2 separate regions of the Homo sapiens genome follow, and region 2 is linked to region 1. The links are contacts of gene promoters, found by promoter capture Hi-C in blood cells and fetal thymus (Javierre and others, 2016). All regions are on one chromosome and are shown on one strand. The core of a region is centred on a gene start or on the middle of the fragment in contact, and the rest is flanking DNA. Distances in the headings are between cores, read along the strand shown. Region 1 holds the start of TMEM215 (transmembrane protein 215). Region 2 has its middle 46 kb from the start of TMEM215.

What was found. Contacts are between HindIII fragments. The CHiCAGO score rates a contact against its expected background, and 5 or more counts as called.
Region 2: a fragment that was not itself captured here is called in contact with the fragment with the promoter of TMEM215 in region 1 in 1 of 17 cell types (M0 macrophages); the score reaches 5.3 in M0 macrophages.

What each region holds. Positions count from the first base shown.
Region 1 is chr9:32,782,267-32,787,379 of GRCh38, reverse strand. TMEM215 (transmembrane protein 215) reads right to left here and starts at 3,840. Exons shown (of 2, transcript NM_212558.3): 1 at 3,575-3,840; 2 at 1-3,254. The coding sequence starts at 3,196. The coding sequence ends at 2,489. It overlaps LOC105376017 (a long non-coding RNA gene), which reads left to right and starts at 4,474. Exons shown (of 7, transcript XR_929559.2): 1 at 4,474-4,737. The HindIII fragment of the contact is 4,873 bases long and covers 2,026-5,113 here.
Region 2 is chr9:32,826,601-32,832,086 of GRCh38, reverse strand. No RefSeq gene overlaps it. Among named protein-coding and RNA genes, the nearest start is that of TMEM215, 46 kb to the right of the region's middle. The HindIII fragment of the contact is 1,512 bases long and covers 2,462-3,973 here.

The sequences.
Region 1 (5,113 bases), core at 2,591-5,090:
TTAGCACAGGAAAATATTTCCTCAAATGCATACTTAAATACCTTAAGTATCTTAAGTAGGTAATGGGAGAAGAAACATGAAATAGGTTTTCTTCTGAAGTAGAACTTGAAAACAAGATAAAATACCTTATATCTCTAAACTAGTAGTTGACCCTCAATTTGGAAAGAGACAGAATGATATAAAGGAGTTTTAAATGGTTCCAAGAAATCAGAAAAGTAACTTTTCCAACCCCCAAACCATACCTGACACTGCAAGCATCTTCTTTCAGAAAATTGCAGCATTATTGTCTAAGATTTGCTGAGTCTCTGTGAACATCTCTCTGTCTCACTATCTCCTCATCTCTAACGGTGGCAAACTTCTTAAAGGAAGTTTTCATTCCTAAAGAGTTATTGCATAGTTCTCACCATTATAAAAATATGATTCTCTGTTTTCAAAATGCATTACAATTATTAAAAGTTACTGTGATTTTAGGAAACTATCTCTCCCCATCCCAAATCCAAATGTCAATCACATTTAGTGCAAGGTTGTGTATTAGATTACTTTGAGTTATACCAACATTTTAAGTTTTCTCCTCAAAAATATTTTACTCTGATTATGTTCATTTTATTCTCAGGAATGCATTGTGTTGAATAATCTGCTTTCATACATCTACAAAATTCTTTTTTGAGTAGTAGCTGTGCAATGTATGTCACATAATTATCATAAATTTCATAACTTTGGCATGCATTTTGCTGTAACTCATTTCCTGGCAATATATAAAATGCCTTTGACATAACACCATAGAATATTTACACTGAAAATGAATGATAGAAATAATCAAGTGTAAATCAGTTCCCCCTCCCTTCACAGAGTAGGAAACTCAGGTGTAAGAAGATAAAATTTGCCCAAGATCATGCATCTCATTTCTGATATTTAAGCCCTACTAAAATAATTACATATTTTTGATCTTGAACTTGACTTGAAAATTATGATTTTTTAAAAATACCATGATTCTTAAGACAGAACAATTGCTATACTTAAGAAAGAATTGCAGAGTTGGAATTGAAATACACAAAACATATATGCCCAAATTTTTGTCCTCAATTCCCCTTTTGGGAGAAAGTGACTAAGACTATATGATCACTTAAAATGATCATTCTTTGAAGGATACAAAATACTTCTGATCTTCAAGATGAACTCTATCACCATTCCTATATATAATTCATATTTTTCTTCACCGGGGATCAAATGGCATTCTGCTTGATAGCCTTCTTATCTATTGCAGTTGAGCAAGTGAAATAGAAAGCACATTTTAGGATATCATTGTGATTTGTTGTTTTCCTCAGCAGCAAAAATGTATGAAATAAAGAGACTTTTATCATGTAATGTTCACTGATCAGGTGAGCTTAATAAAATCTAGGCTTCAGTTAAATTTAGTAGATGAGTTCTTGTTTCACTGGCATTTACAGTCTGTGAGAGGAGTTGAACAAATGTACAAATAATGACACTTCCAAAGGTTTAACCATTGCATTTCATACAAATTATGTGCAATGTTCAAGGCTAATGTGTAGACTTTATAGTTTTCAGATTTTAAAAGGTATGTAGGAATGGTAATTATCAGTACATGTCTGCCAATGTTAAAGACTTGGATATATATGTAAAATTCATTTTGTCTTGATGAAAACAAATTCCAATCTATGAAAGTATCATTTCAAATAATGTTGCACCTGGTAAGGAAATAATACATGAATGATAGTAAATGTTTAGAAAAAACCCATTTCAGATAAAGATGCAATAAATGGATTTAAACGAAGAGTTTAAGAAGTAACATAGCCATCTAAAAATGTTAACTTTTCACATAGCTGCTCACACTTATTTTACTTTATTAGAGACCATGATCTTGTCAGACAATAATGCCACAAGACTCAGTTACATAATCCAACTCTCTTTAACTACCCTTTTCCCAAAAACCATCCCATCTAAGGAGGGTTTAACTCTTGTATCTTGATTTTTTTTTCTTTCAGCAAATACCAAGTGTGATAAGCTTTTAACCAGGCAAAAATTACTTTATATAACGGATCATTAATTTTATTTTCAACTTATTCAAACATAAAGCAGCTCAGTTTCCCTGTGGTCAGCTCATGCATCATTTGATGCCTCACATCTGCAGCCCACTCTAGATTTATCTTGCTCTCAGCTGGTTCTGGATAGCACTTTTTGGGTTATTTTACAAAACATTTAACATTGTGTAAATTGTTAAGAAGCAACTGGAGTAGCTTCCTTTCCTACCCACTGCCTCTTCCAGTGTCCTTAACCCTCATCGCCCTTCCCTAAAATGTGTCCCCAACATGCCTATTTACATGACTCTCGGGTACCAGAGGTTATCACACCCATCACATACCAGGTCAATTTCTAACAGTGTGAAGGCTCTCCAAGCAGAGCAATTTGCTTCCACGGGGAGCTGGGCTTAGTCATATTCTATCAATCCAGCCACCTTTGTAGGCAGAGATTAGACGATGGTCTCGTGGTCCCACCTGCCTTGTATCTGATTGATATAACAACAGTATCTGTCATACGGGCTGTTCTGCTTGTAGGAGCAAACGATGATACTGTCCTGGGGCACAAAGAAGATGCTATCCTCAGGCTCAGGGCACTCAGATCTGTCCCTTGCTGAGCACTTGACGTCCAAGGCACTGTAGGTGAGGGAACTGCCCGAGGGGCAGTAGCCGTCCAGGTATCTGGACGTCTCCTCCTGATGCCCATTCTGGACGAGGCTCTGGCATTCTCCTTCCTCCGTGGGTGTGGGGCTGTTGATGGAGCTGGCCACGGACACCTCACCCTGGCTTTGTGGGGGAGGCTTCCCCCTGAGGCCCGCCTTCTTAGCCAGCTCATCTGAGCTCCCCTTGCCGGATTCTAGGTCTGAAGGGGTCCTCAGCAGCTCTACCACCTCCTTGTCTTTGGGTTTCCGGAAGCAGGGCAATTTGCGGACCCACAGCAGCTCGTTCTCTGGCCACTTGGTGCATCCCTCGGTTTTCCTGGCCAGGGCAATGGCTGCGATGCCTGGTAGGCAGATGGCTGGCCCGATGGCCAGGAGGGGGATGTTTCCCAAAGTCTCCCCTTTCATCCCAGAGACGGTGAACATGAAACCAAAGACGAGGAAGACACTGACCAGGGCCACCACCAGCCCAGTCCTCGGGTTAATGTCATCAGGCCGCATGTTTCACTCCATCCAGGTTGGGGGCTGCTTGCTGACCAGGGAGCAGCGTTCCTCTATTCTGTCAGAGATGAAACCACAGTGCGTTAAAAAAAAATCCAAGTCAAGCTCCCACCCATCAACTCTTGTCTTTCTCTTGCCCTTTGTCTCCGACTTGCTTCTTGACTTTCAGTCTTGATCTCTGTCTCTGTATCTCTCTTGCAATCTCTCTATCTCTCTCTCTGCGTTTCTCTTGCAATCTCTCCCTGTTTCTATTTCTACTCTTTCTCTCCGTCCCCTCTCCCTCCCTCCCTTTCTTGTGCCCTCCCTCTCTTCCTCTCACTATTGCAACCTCCGTCTCTCTCTCATATCAACACGCTCCGGCTGGGGTCAACGAGGTACCTGAGGTTTCCTGCCCTCTCCAGGAAGTAGGGAAAGAAGCCAGGCTGTCTCCTCAGAAGCCCCCACAGCAGCTGCCCCCTCGGCTCGCTCCCTTGGTTCTGGGAGGAAAGCCTGGTTTCCCCCACGGACTCTGCATCGGGGAGGTGGAACCTGGGAGAGCGGCTCTCCCAGCAGTGCCCGTCGGTCCCGGTGCTGTGCAAGCGGAGCCCGGCGCCAGCTCAGCGCGCAGAGCGCGGGGCGCGGGAGGAGGAGGGAGCACTGAGTCTGGGAAAGAGGGGACGCGGCGCGAGCCTGGCCTTGTTACATCACTGTCAGAGCAGGCTCAGAAACGCAGACAGACGCGCGGGGGCGCGAGGGGGTCAGCCCCAGAGGGAGGCCACCCGGCGGCAGGCGCTGCCCGGGGTCTCGTCGGGGCTGCTGGGAGCGGCCGGGGTTTGTGCCGCCGCCGTTCCGGAGGCTGAGCAGGGCGACCTGACCCGCTTCCGTGCCCGGGAAGGGTCTGGGGCGCGAGGCTGCCAGTGGCCGGAGTCGGAAACCAGGGTCGGTTTGCCCACGGGGCAGCCGTTGCAATATCCGAGCTCGGGCTCCCAGTCCGGGATCCGAGGAGTTAGGTGCCAGCTGGAGATGTCCCTCCGGGACCCGCACCCTTCTCCAGTTACAAATCCGGGTGACTGACGGCAGGCCCAGGGGCTCCCCGACCGCCCTTCTCTCAACCCCTCGACTCGGGGCGCGGGGGGGTGTGTGTCCCTCGGGGAGCCGGTGCCCGAGGACTGCTTTGGTCCCGGCTCTGGGCGGTGGCGGCGCGCGAAAGCGCTCTTGCAGCGGAGCGACTGCGCCGCGGGAGCGCACAGAACCAGCGCCCAGGCGGAGTGGGTTAGTGGTGAGGGGTGGGTGCCAGGCTAGTCCGGGCCTTGGGGGAGTCCCCGGAGTCCCCGTGGCTTTCCAGCTCCAGGCTCGGGAGAGGGTGACCTTGGAGCCGGGATTTCACTTCTACAGCGCTGTGGTGCCGGGGGGACAGGGAGAAGGGCTCCCTGGCCCCCAGTTCACGAGGAGAAGGGGCCTTGACCGGTCAGGACCACCACCCTACGACGCCGCTCAGCTCTGGGCGATTCTCTCCTCCCTTGCTGAAGCAGGCATTGAGAGCCTGCGTTCCTCCCGCTCTGGTAGGCAGGGGCAGATGGATTCCTCTGGCCCCGGGGGGCAAGACTGGCTTTGGCTGTGATTCTTCAACAGGGCTGCCCATTTAGGATAGAGGAGGGCGGTGGAGAACAGGTTGATGAGCGGTACATGCTTTCATGTCAAGACACTGATTTACTGGAAAGAATTTTCACATCCAGGCCTTCCCCAGTTAAACTAGCTGTATATTCCTGGGCAAGTGACTTAACCTCTCTGAGAATCAGTCGTCCTATCTGTAAAATGAGATTAATACCAAATATATGAGGAAACATTGTGAGGATTAAATAAACGTAAAGTTCCTAGCACAATGCTTGGTACATAGTCTGTGTACAAAAATTACACACACATGCACACACGTACACA
Region 2 (5,486 bases), core at 1,968-4,467, 45 kb before region 1:
TGGATTGGATGTACAGGCTGCCAGTTGGGATTCCCTTTTCTAAGCATTTACAGGATCTAAAAATGTATTCTGGTAAAAAACTAGAAAACTTTGTTTCATGGAATAACTTTAAAAATAAGTTTTAGTCACACTACCCCAAAATGGTGGTGCTTTAAATAATTGGGGCCTGGTACTAGTAACTTACAAACTGGTGTGGTCCCAGTTGTCTAACAACTTACATGTTCCTTTGTCCCTTCCTGCCTTGTCTTCCTTCTCCTCCTCACTGGGATGGTGAACTCCGGGGTGATCTGAGACCCTTAGGGCTGTCTCCACTATGGAGAGGTGACTGGAAGCCCGGGCTCAGCTCCTTTCAGGCTCAGCCTGGCCCATGTTACATCTTCTTCCTGCCCCCTCAGCCTCCTCCTCTTTACTGACTTCTCCCTGTTAGCCTTTAAACATGCTCAGGTCTCTGTAAACTTAGAGAGGGGTTTTGGCATTTGGCTAGGCTGGTCTCAAACTCCTGACCTCAAGTGATCTGACTGCCTCAGCCTCCCAAAGTGCTAGTGATTACAGGCATGAGCCACTGCGCCCGGCCTCATTCTTCCTTCTTGAAACAGTTTTCATTTGAGCGTCACCATTCCTCATTTTCCAGGTTTTCTTTTGATGTATCTGGTTGATCCTTCTCAGGCTCCTACAGGTGCTCCTCCTGGGGATGTAAAGTTGATGATACTCATAGTCCTACCCTAAGCCCTGCCCTGTCCTAACTACTCCCCCTCTATGGATGCTCTAAACTGCCCCCGTGGCTTATGCTGGGACCTCTGTGCCAGAGACCCTGAAGACTCTGTTGCCAGCTCGGATTTCTTCCTGCATACCAGGTGGAATTATTTCACTCCTGCTTGTCATCCTCGAGTAGTGTCTCTTAGGCACCTCCACCTCAACATGTCCAATACTGAACCCCATACTCTTCCCCACTTCAGTACTGCTTCTTTTCCTCCCATTTTCAGCTTTTCAGAGAATGGCATGTCCATCCACCAGGGCAGACACACCTGGACGTCATTCTCGACCCCTCCTTCTCCCTCTCCCACCACTCCTAGCAGTTACCAGGTCCTGAATCTTCATCACTGTCCTTCTCTCCATCCCTGGGGCAGGGCACCATCGTCCCTTGCTCAGATGATAGGAACAGCCTCCAAGTGGTGCTCCCTGCCTCCAGTCTTACCCATCCCTCCCCCACTACTTTTTAAATCTACACTATAACCAGGCTTATCTTTCTTTTCTCCACTTAAAAAAATTTGTTTTAAATTACATAATGCATCAGAGCAATCTTTCTAAAAGGCAAACCCAACCCTCTCATGCTTCTATTTAAAACTCCATATTGGTTCTCCACTGCTCACAGACCCTGCATGGCCTGGGTGGGGTTAGATGATGGGGTTTCTGCCCTGTGCCATGCTCACTCATACTAACCTCTTAGTATCTGCTCACACCTTCAGGCCACGGTGCCTTAGCACTCACTCTTCCTCTGCTCAACACACCCACAGCTCTCACCTTTCCTGTCTACCTACTGCTCAGTGTCTAGACTAGGAGCCTTCTCTAAACTCTCATATGGGTGAGGTACCCCTCCCTGAACTTCCTGGCCACACTGCTCTTTCCTCATGGCTTCTACCTCTCAATGTTGTCATGGCTGCCTAATTGCCCACCCCTCCTTGATCACAGGCTCTGGGGGAAGGAAGGGCCAGTCTTCTTTATTTTTAAAATCCTCTTTGCATGGTAGATGTTTGACCCACAATAGAGTAGGTGTTTGAGATACATCTATGTATCTCTATATATGCATATCTACATGCATTAAGTGAACAGATGAATGAATTCCCAAAGACCTTTGGGAGTAAATCTCAGACAACCATCCAGAGGTGAATGGGAGCTACCTTATATGACTCCTGAGAGCAAAATGTGCACCCAGAGATAGATATCATGTAATAGCATGAAATTGCATGTAGCTACAAATCAGGGCTCTCCTACCTGCACCCTCCAGCTGCTGTGTAATCACTTTGGAGAGCTCTTTAAAGTGGCTACAATCCCTCAGCAATAACTTGGAAGCAGTTCATTACTCTCGGCATACTATTTGGGAACCTGATAATAGTAATAATAATAATAATAATAATGATAATAATAATAATAAAAGTAACTACTGTTTAATGAATGTTTGCTATGTGTCAAACCCTGTGCTTAGTGCTTTATGTACTTGATCTTGTTTAACCTTTGTAACAAAGGTTTCATTCATAGGTATTATGAAGTGGATTCATAAATACCTTGGAAAGACCAAGTAGGTATTATGAATACACTCTACAGAAGAGGACAGTAAGAATCAAATTTGTGGAAGTCTACCCATCTGGTAAGTTGGAGATGTATCTTGATGCCAGATCTCATCACTGAGCCAGTAATCTTAACTCTTCACTGTGGTGCTCTTCACAGCAGGGGGCTTGAAGCTTTAGTTTTTATTTCTCACCTTCACTTCTCCAAAGTGGTTCCTAAGTTTTCAGCTGGGCTTCACAATCGAACTTCCAGTTGACTGGGGAAAGAATCTTGCAATTGGCCAACCAAGATGTTGACAGGCTTGTTTCCAAGACAGAAATAACCAGGGGAGTTGTCAGGACTGGGTGTCAGCAACAGAGTGACATTTTGAATTGAGTCATTGATTTTAGTTTTTTGATAACATGATGGTGTGAATTGTTTTCAAAGAGAACTTTCCCACCCCCTGAGATAATATAGGTCAATAATTGTTGATCTTCAGGGTTTAAATGCTTCAAGGAAGGTGCCAGAACACCATCAAGCATATGACTCAAGTCTATCTCCCCAGTATCTCATAACAATAATACTCTAATGCTTGGAGGTTGTAGAGCACTTTTAATTCAGAAGCTAACTAATGTCCTGTCAGACAGAAATAAAGGCTTTTTCCTCTGCACTCTTAGGTTCAATGACTGGAATTGAACTGACAAAAGAGAGATTAACAGGAGAAAAAGGTTTATTTTATATGCATACGAGGGGCTCACAAAAATGAAATAAAAACCGAAAGAAGTAGTTAGACCCGACAGTTATTTTTGCCCTTTTAACAAAGGGCAATACATTTGCAGATAATTGACAAGACAAAGGAAAGGGGTTTGAGCTTCTAGTGGCAGTAAATTGTGGGACGGCAAATATGTGGAAGAAACTAATGGAAGATAAGGGTTATTTAAGTAACGTTTGTGATGCAGGTTTCTCTCAGTACTATTTCTGGGATGATAAGGGTCTAGGAAATTTATGCCCTTCTTTTAGGCAAATAGGAGGAGGGTAGAGAGCTTTTTTTCTTTTCTTTTCTTTTTTTTTTTTTTTTTTTGAGACAGAGTCTCACTGTCGCCCAGGTTGGAGTGCAGTGGCGCAATCTCGGCTCACTGCAGGCTCCGCCCCCAGGGGTTCACGCCATTCTCCTGTCTCAGCCTCCAGAGTGGCTGGGACTGCAGGCGCCCGCCACCTCGCGCGGCTAATTTTTTGTATTTTTAGTAGAGACGGGGTTTCACTGTGTTAGCCAGGATGGTCTCGATCTCCTGACCTCGTGATCCGCCCGCCTTGGCCTCCCAAAGTGCTGGGATTACAGGCGTGAGCCACCGCGCCTGGCCGAGAGCTTTTTTTCTGTGTCTGCTGATTCTCACCTGCCTTCAGCTCAAAATATCTTTATACCAAAGTGGCATACTTTGTTGTGTCATGTTCTGAACCCTTCAGTTCATAAACAAAAGTCTGTTGACTTGCATGGTTCTCTGAACACTGTGGTGGGTAAACTAGATGCTGCTGCTGCTGTTCCTGTGGTCACAACCCAGACCTCATCATTGCTTGAAACTGCTCCTTTAAAAAAATAAGTCCCACCCTGGGTCCACATCTTCCATCTCTTCTCTCTGTCTCACTAAATCTATTTGTTCTTCAGCTGCTCCAAGGCTCCGGGATCTCAACTGTTCCAGCCTAACAAGCTTTTCTTTCTCATGCAGCCTGGAATCCATGATCAATCTCTAGAGTGGTTTCCTGTTGACAATGCTCAACTCTGTGCCACCTCTTTTTTAACCTGCACTTGCTCTACAGCTTGTGTCTCTTGGTCAGTCTAACAGGCCTCAGATTCTCCTTGTGCACAGCAGAGATGCTTACATAACCTCACCTGATGACGAGGGCTCCACCTAAGATAAACTCCCTAAGGAGCTGGTTTCAGGGCTGAGGCTCCTGGTGCCTCTAGCTCTTCTTATTGACCAGATGTCTTCCTTTCCTGTTCCCTTTGTTGGCTGTTTCTGATCTCCCATTTCTCCTTTGAGCCACACCCACATGCCCCTCAATCATTGCAGGTGGGACCAAGTCTTTCCTTTCTTAGAGAAAACAGAAGTTCTTAGATGTAAACTTTCCTTTTCACTTTTAAACTTATCTATAAAAGTACTTCTTTCTCCATCTTTTGTTCTTGTTTTAGAAAAGAGTTTCCTCTTTCATAAAGCTGGTTTCTTTCCACCAACGAGTTCTTTTGATAGTTTAAACCAGTGAAGGTGAGGATGTCATTTTTCTGCTTGAAACCTCCCAGATACTTCCAATTACATCCTCACTAAAAAGCAAACTCCTTACTGCGGTCTTCAAGAAATGCTTGCCCTAAAATGGTAGTTCTCTTCCCAGATTGCACTGGGAAGCTCAAAAGCATAACCATGCCCAGGTGCCTCCACCAGGCACTCTGCTTTAATCGGTGCAAACCAAAAAGTGACTGAAGCAGATCTCAATTAATTAGAGGTTCATTTTGCCAAGGTTGAGAATGCACCCAGGAAGAAGAAACAAAAATCATGGTAGGACCTGTGACTTGCACCTTTTCCAAAGATGGTTTTGGAAACATTAATATGTAAAGGAGAAAAAGCAAGCAGGAAGGGAAGGAAAAAAAAGAGACAGCAAGCAATGAGGCCAGTGGTTACATTCTTGTGAGGCTCTGATTAGCGCTCAGGAAATCTACATTTTACATAAGCTAAAGTAAGCATGCGAAATTACAGCTATCTGGGAACAAAAGGAAGGAAGTTTTTGCATGACTCAGTTCCCAAGTTTAACTTTCCCTTTGGCATAGTGAATTTGGGGTCCTGAGATTCTATTTTTCTTTCACATTTGTATGAGGTGAGATCTGGTCAACAGTATTTTTTGTTTATTTAATTTTATTTATTTATTTTTATTTCAATAGTTTCAGGGTTACAAGTGGTTTTTGGTAACGTGGATGAATTGTATAGTGAAGTCTGAAATTTTAGTGCACCCATCATCTGAGTAGTGTCCATTGTACCCAATATGTAGTTTTTTATCCCTCATCCTCCCAGGAGTATTTTTAAGACATCCCGGCGGATTCTGCTTTCCTCTTGCAGCACCTTGTCCCCTTCTCCCCGTGACTCCCCACCTTGACCTCTCCCCTCCAGTCTCTATAAGGCTGTTTCCCAAACTTCAGGTTTCAGTTTTAGTGTCACCATTTATGGAAGATAATG